Regions from separate parts of the Homo sapiens genome. Here region 2 is linked to region 1. The links are contacts of gene promoters, found by promoter capture Hi-C in human tissues and cell types (Jung and others, 2019). All regions are on one chromosome and are shown on one strand. The core of a region is centred on a gene start or on the middle of the fragment in contact, and the rest is flanking DNA. Distances in the headings are between cores, read along the strand shown. Region 1 holds the start of CCT8L2 (chaperonin containing TCP1 subunit 8 like 2). Region 2 has its middle 84 kb from the start of GAB4.

Region 1 (4,042 bases), core at 478-2,977:
GACAAGAGCGAAACTCCGAAACTCCATGTCCAAACAAAAAAAGAAACATTTCTCTGAGCCAAGATAATGTTGAGGGGGAAATGATCACAGAATAGCATATATGTATCATAATCTTATGTAAAATGGTGTAAATCTATAATTATGTATGCATATAATATGTGCAAAGTAGTAATGTTCATCAAGTTGTAAACAATGGTTATCTCTGGACTAGGATTCCAAATGACCTTTCCCCTATTTTTTTTGAGACAAGTCTCACTCTGTTGCCCTAGCTGGAATGCAGTGGTGCAATCATGGCTCACTGAAGCCTCAACCTCCTGAGCTTAAGCAATCCTCCCGCCTCAGCCTCCCAACGTGCAGGGATTACATGCATGAGCCACCACGCCCAGACTAAATATGTGTTAAACTAAAGCAGAAGCATCATTACCCGAGTAGGCTCTATAGGAGGAAAGAGGAGACAAGTGAGGAAAGGAGAGAGAATGAAAAAAAGAGACTTAAATTGTAAGCATTGAAGGTTAGGATGGGAAGGCGATTCGCATTTAAATCTCAGGACCCCATTTAGGCTTCTACCTCCCTGACCGCTGGGAGGCTGGTTGCTTTTCACCCCTCTGGGTTCACTTCTATTTGTCTGTGAGCTGTCAGCATCCTTCCCCACTTGTCTTGCCCTGCCTCTGCCAGGGAGGCAGAGTTGGGAGTCGTGGCACAGGCATGCACGCTGTGCAGCCTCCCACACCTGCACCCTGAAAGACCAACAGACACCCTAAGAAACCTGATACACAAGCACAAACTGATAAGATACCCAAAAAGTCAAAGGCAGACAGCAAAACATGGCTAATATTACACAGTACTGCAAGAGAAAGTAACACCAAAACAAAACAAAACACAGACATCATCTCTCAGTTCCTTCTCAAATAAAAAAAAAAGGCCAGGTGCAGTGGCTCACACCTGTAATCCCAGCACTTTTGGAGGCCGAGGTGGGCGGATCACTTGAGGCCAGGAGTTTGAGACTAACCTGGCCAACCATGGCCAACATGGTGAAATCCCCCTATCTCTACTAAAAATATAAAAAATTAGCCGGGCGTGGTGGCTGGCACCTGTAATCCCAGCTACTGAGAGGCTGAGGCAGGAGAACTGCTTGAACCTGGGAGGTGGAGGTTGCAGTGAGCTAAGATTGTACCACTGCACTCCAGCCTGGGCAACAGAGTGTGACTCTGTCTCAAAAAAAAAAAAAAAAAAAGGGTGGGTGAGGTGGTGGCTCACACCTGTAGTCCTAGCACTTTGGGAGGCCAAGGTGGAAGGCTCTCTTGAGGCTAGGAATTCGAGACCTGCCTGGACAACAGACAGAAACACTGTCTCTACAAAAAATAAAAAAACTAGCTAGGTGTGGTGGTGTGTGCCTGTAGTCCCAGGTACTTGGGAACCTGAGCAGGAGGACTGCTTGAGACCAGGGAGCTGGGCCTGCAGTGAACCATGGTTATGCCCCTGCACTCCAGATAGGGTGAAATGGGTAGTTTTTCACTTGATCTCCTCCTCATTGTCTCTTACGTTTAAACAAGTCTCAAACCTGGTGCAGAGGTGCATGTACCTCCATTGCTGGACAAGGCCTGACTTTTGCCTGCTGGTAGGGCCTCCTCAGTTCTAACCAGCCTTCTGTGACCTCATTCTCTATCCTGGTTCCATTTTCCACTTTGTGACTTCATCAGTTAAAGATCCCATTTCAGCCACCAAGGTTGAGAGGCCCCAAGACCCAGTTCCTTTACAGAATCAACCCTGGGGTGGCTTTAGGACTGGGCTCTTTGGAGCTCATCCTTGGACCCACAGTGGAGTGCTGGTCCGTGCTGATGTCTTCAGATACCAATCAATGGGCATTTGGCTCCTTGCTTCCACTGACCTCTTGAGTACTTTCAACGATCGGTGTCAGGAGTGCCCCAGCTGCTGTTTCTAGAGCATCTCTGCAACCCACGGTGGCCTCTCCTCTCTCTGCGGGCCATGGACAGCACAGTCCCTTCAGCCCTGGAGCTGCCCCAGCGGCTGGCACTGAACCCAAGGGAGAGCCCGAGGAGTCCAGAAGAGGAGGAGCCCCACCTGCTGAGCAGCTTGGCTGCAGTCCAGACCCTGGCCAGTGTCATCCGGCCTTGCTATGGCCCCCACGGCCGGCAGAAGTTCCTGGTGACCATGAAAGGAGAAACAGTGTGCACGGGGTGTGCCACTGCCATCCTCAGGGCCCTGGAGCTGGAGCACCCAGCAGCATGGCTCCTCCGGGAAGCAGGACAAACCCAGGCAGAGAATAGTGGGGACGGCACAGCCTTCGTGGTTCTGCTGACGGAAGCCTTGCTGGAACAGGCAGAGCAGCTGCTGAAGGCTGGCCTGCCTCGCCCGCAGCTCCGGGAGGCCTACGCCACGGCCACTGCAGAGGTCCTGGCCACACTGCCCTCCCTGGCCATCCAATCTCTGGGGCCTTTGGAAGATCCATCCTGGGCCCTCCATTCTGTGATGAATACCCACACCCTGTCCCCCATGGACCACTTGACCAAGCTGGTGGCCCACGCCTGCTGGGCTATCAAGGAACTAGACGGCAGCTTCAAGCCTGAGCGTGTTGGGGTGTGCGCGCTGCCCGGGGGGACACTGGAGGATTCCTGCCTCCTCCCGGGGTTAGCAATATCTGGGAAGCTCTGTGGGCAAATGGCCACAGTGTTAAGTGGTGCCAGGGTGGCTCTCTTTGCTTGCCCCTTTGGTCCTGCCCATCCAAATGCACCAGCAACGGCCCGTCTTTCTAGTCCTGCTGATCTAGCTCAATTTAGTAAAGGAAGCGATCAATTACTAGAAAAGCAAGTAGGCCAGCTAGCAGCTGCAGGAATTAATGTGGCAGTGGTGTTGGGGGAGGTCGACGAGGAGACCCTCACACTGGCGGACAAGTATGGCATCGTGGTGATTCAAGCTAGGTCTTGGATGGAGATCATTTACCTGAGTGAGGTGTTGGACACACCTCTGCTGCCTCGTCTGCTCCCTCCCCAGAGGCCAGGCAAGTGCCAGAGGGTTTACAGGCAGGAGCTGGGAGATGGTTTGGCTGTGGTATTTGAATGGGAATGTACAGGCACACCTGCCCTCACTGTGGTTCTCAGGGGAGCCACCACCCAGGGGCTGCGGAGTGCAGAGCAGGCCGTCTACCACGGCATTGATGCCTATTTCCAGCTATGTCAAGATCCCAGACTGATTCCAGGAGCTGGGGCCACAGAAATGGCTTTGGCAAAAATGCTTTCTGATAAAGGAAGCAGATTGGAAGGGCCCAGTGGGCCTGCATTCCTAGCATTTGCCTGGGCCCTGAAGTATCTTCCTAAAACTTTGGCAGAGAATGCAGGCTTAGCTGTCTCAGACGTGATGGCAGAAATGAGTGGAGTGCACCAAGGTGGGAACCTCCTAATGGGTGTGGGAACTGAAGGGATAATAAATGTGGCCCAGGAAGGGGTGTGGGACACCCTAATAGTCAAAGCCCAAGGATTTCGAGCAGTGGCTGAGGTGGTGCTACAGCTCGTGACTGTAGATGAAATCGTAGTGGCCAAGAAAAGTCCCACACATCAGGAGATCTGGAATCCTGACTCTAAGAAGACAAAGAAACACCCACCTCCTGTGGAAACAAAAAAAATCCTTGGATTGAATAACTAGTGATACCCTCAATAAAACAGGGATTGCCAAGAAGGGAACAATCACCCCAAAAATGAATGTTTGCCTTTATTCCGTGTTTGGTACTTGATTCACTTTCTTTAAATAAAAACATGAAGGAACATAAAATTTCTTTTCATGCGCTTAGTTCCTTTCCAGTTCTCGACTTTTTTTGTTTTTTTTTTTTGAGAGACGGAGTCTTGCTCTGTTGCCCAGGCTGGTGTGCAGTGGCGTGATCTTGGCTCACTGCAACCTCCGCCTCCCAGGTTCAAGCGATTTTCCTGCCTCAGCCTCCTGAATAGCTGGGACTACAGGTGCGCGCCACCACGCCCAGCTATTTTTTGTATTTTTAGTAGAGACGGGGTTTCACCATATTGACCAGGCT
Region 2 (3,834 bases), core at 163-2,662, 330 kb before region 1:
TGCCTCCTGTACTCTAGCTCCCAGGTGAGGGGAAGAGGAGATGGCTCTACACTGAAACTCTCTCAACCTTGTTGGTTCCTCTGACCTGGCATCCCTGCTGAGCAAGAACAGTAATTATAATTCAGTGTAGATTAGTGACTGTGGTTATACTATGAAGATTGTGGGCTTGATGCAGTTTATATGAGTGATTTTCCTGTTTTATTCTAATCTCATGTCCCTCCAGAGAAGTTATGTTGATGCAGTCTCTTGACTCCTTGTCTTTGTCTTCAGGGAAAAGAGACTCTCTCATCTGTGTGTGCAGTCAGAGCATTGGCAGCTCCTTAGCCTGGTATCAGCAGAAACCTGGAAAAGCTCCCTGGTTCCTCATCTAAGGCACATCCAACAGGGCCACTAGCATCCTGGGGTTTAGTGGTCATGGATTGGAGACAGACTTTACTATCACCATCAGCTGCCTGAAGCCTAAGATTTTTCACTTCTTTGTCTTTTTTTTTAATCTTTGTTTGTTTAAAGTCTGTTTTGTCAGAAACGGTAACCCCTTCTTTTTTCTGTTTTCCATTTCCTTGGTAGGTTTTTCTCCATCCCTTTATTTTGAGCATATGTGTATCATTGCATGTGAGATGGGGCTCTTGAAAACAGCATACCAATGAGTCTTAGTTCTTTTTCCAACTTTCCATTCCGTGTCTTTTAATTGAAGCACTTAGCCCATTTACTTCTAAGGTGAGCATGAATATGTGTGGGTTTGATCGTGTCATCATGATGTCAGCTGGTTATTTCACAGACTTGTTTATGTGATTGCTTTATTGCATCACTTGTTTGAGTACTTCAGTGTGTTTTTGTAGTGGCTGGTAATGGTCTTTCCTTTCCATACTTAGTGCTTCCTTCAGGAGCTCTTGTAAGGCAGGTTTGGTGGTGACGTATTCCCTCAGCATTTGCTTGTCTTAAAAGGATCTTATTTCTCTTCACTTATGAAGCTTAGTTTGGCTGGACATAACATCCTGGGTTGGAGTTTCTTTTCCTTTAGGATGTTGAATATTGACCCACAATTTCTTCCAGTTTGTAGGATTTCTGCTTAGAGATCCACGTTAGTCTGATGGGCTTTTGTTTGTAGGTGAGCTGGCCTTTCTCTCCAGCTGCCTTTAAAATTTTTGCTTTCCTTCTCACCTTGGAGAATCTGACAATTATGTGTCTTGGAAATGATCTTCTTGTAGATTATCTTACTTTTGTGTTCTCCAAATTTCCTGAATTTGAATGTTGGCCTCTTTAGATAGGTGGGGGAATTTTTCATAGATGATATCCTGAAATATATTCTCCAGGTTTGTTTCATTTGCCCCATCCCTTTCAGGTATACCAATCAGCTGTAGAATGGGTCTCTTTACATAATCCAATATCTCTTGGAGGTTTTGTTTATTCCTTTTCATTATTTTTTCTATATTCCTGCCTGCCCACCTTATCTTAGTCAGTGTTCAAGCTCTGAGATTCTTTTCCCCACATGGTATGTTGTGCTATTAATACTTGTGATTGCACTATGAAATTCCTGTAGTGTGTTTTTCAGATCTAACATGCTGGTTATGTGCTTCTCTGTACTGGCTATTTTGTCTGTCATCTGCTGAAAATTTTTTTCATTATTTTTAGCTTTCTTGAATTGGGTTACAACATACTCCTGCAACTCAATGAATTTTATTCCTATTCCTATTATAAATTCTACTTCTGTCATTTCAGCCATCTCAGGTTCAGCCTGGATGTGAACCCTTGATGGAGAGGTGATGTAGTCATTTGGCAGAAAGAAACCATTCTGGCTTTTTGAGTTTTCAGTGGAGAACTAATTGATTAATTTTTTTGTGCTTAGTGCTTTGTGTATCTTCTATACAAAATCTTTTTTCACATGTATAGTCATGAAATATCTTTTTATGGTATTGTTTAAAAGCTTTATACTTTTGACTTTACATTTCAGGTTATGATTTACAATTAATGTGCGTATCAATATAGAGGTAAAATGTGCAGGATAAGATTCATTTTGACATCATATGGATATCCAATTGATCCAATATAATTCAGTTATCATATTTTTTTCTACTAAATCACTGCTATGGTCTGATTGTGTCCCCTCCAAAGTTCCTGTTGAAACTGAATTTTCAAGACAACAGTATTAGACATTGGATTCTTTGGTGATTAGCTCATGAGGGCTCTGCACTCATGATAAGATTAATAAGATTAATAATGCCTAAGAAAAGTGGCTTCACATTGATTCCAGCCTTCATCTGGACTCCCCCCCAAAAAAACACATAAACACACACAAAATAGCAAAACCAACAATTAGACAGCTATCCAAGAAAGAAAACAGCCCTTGGAGTGCTCCAGAATCCAATTAAAGAAGTGCAGGAACACAACGGGAGAAAAGCGCAGAGTAACCATGCAGGAAGGATGGCTGGGAGATGGCACATCTGAGAGTTTTGAGACAGCCAGGGGCAAAGAAGCAGGAGGCAAGTGTTACCAGCTAGGAGGCAGGGCCACTGCAGTCCCCATGGCCTGCTCTGTGGAGGACCCTGCAGCCTTGGCAGCTGAGGACCTCAGTATCCCCCAAGGCAGCTCCACTCTACAGCTTTCCTAATGAAGGCCCCTTAGTGTTCATTAATAAGGATCACAACAGCCTGCTCCAAAGAGGACACTGGTGATTTTGGCACTAAAAAAATCTGCAGCCATGGGCATGTACATCACCGCAGAGAGGAAGATTCTGCGACCTTCCCTCCACATCCTCCCAAGAAGCAGCCACTGTTGTGCGGCCTGGGATGGGGCTGCCTCCCAGCCCCAACTCTGCATCATCCCAACCCAGGCTCCGGGACCTCATCCTGTGTTGGCAACTCAGACCCTGAGCCACTTCCATGTGGACCAGCCCAGGCCCAAGCCCAGAGCTGCTGTCACTACAAGTGCACCCACACTCCAGAGACTGGCCTGAGGCTGCTCCGGAAATTACCTAGGACATAACATAAAAAGAGAATGTACAGCAACACAGTAGAGTGAATTGCAGAGAATAACCACACAGAGAGCATCTCTGGGAGGTGGCACACCTGAGAGACCTGAGAAATTCTGCGAAATGTGTCAAGGGTAATGAAACACATTAGTCTATGAGATCAAAAAAATGGAAACTTATCCAGGATAAACATCAAGACATGCATCATTATACAGATTGTAGTTAAAATGCAGAATCACATACAAAGTGAAAATCTCAAATGTATCAAGAAAATACTGGTTTCTTATACCAGAGAAACAGTAATAAAACACTTGGTGAACTGTTCATGGGACCAATAGAGGCAGAAGACAGTGAGATTACATATTTACATACTGGGTGGAAGGGACTCACCCAAGGATTCAATATCGAGTGAAGATATGCTTCAAAAATAAAGGTAAAGTAAAAACACTTCTTTATGAACAAAATGAAGAGAAATGATTACTTGCAGATATATTCTATAAGATATTCAAGAGGAAACTTTTCAGAATCACAGGAAATGACAGCAGATGGTAATCTGAATGCACAGAAATAAATGAAGATTTCAGAAACAGTAAAGAAAAGAGGAAGAAGCAAGGAAAAAACAAAAAAGTGTTTCCTTCAATTTATATGAAATTCTAGGCCAGGGGAAACCAAGCTATTGTGATGAGTATCTGAATTCCAGTTACCTTGACTGAAATTGGGGAGCAGCTGTTGCCTGGGAAGGTGCATGAGGGATGAATCTGGAGAATTTGAAATATTCTAGAGATTCATTGGGATGGAGAACATACAGAAAACTTAGTTGCATATTTAACATTTCAGTTGTTTACTGGGCGTGTGTATTACCTCAA

The links. The method cuts DNA at HindIII sites, captures the fragments that hold promoters and counts their contacts. A contact is called where the count stands out against the background at its distance.
Region 2: a contact is called between a fragment that was not itself captured here and the fragment with the promoter of CCT8L2 in region 1, in 2 of the 25 tissues and cell types used here (dorsolateral prefrontal cortex and mesendoderm cells).

The regions. Positions count from the first base shown.
Region 1 is chr22:16,590,495-16,594,536 of GRCh38, reverse strand. It overlaps CCT8L2 (chaperonin containing TCP1 subunit 8 like 2), which reads left to right and starts at 1,727. Exons shown (of 1, transcript NM_014406.5): 1 at 1,727-3,786. The coding sequence starts at 1,987. The coding sequence ends at 3,660. The HindIII fragment of the contact is 16,456 bases long and covers 1-4,042 here.
Region 2 is chr22:16,922,587-16,926,420 of GRCh38, reverse strand. It overlaps the pseudogene IGKV3OR22-2. Among named protein-coding and RNA genes, the nearest start is that of GAB4, 84 kb to the left of the region's middle. The HindIII fragment of the contact is 3,294 bases long and covers 1-3,059 here.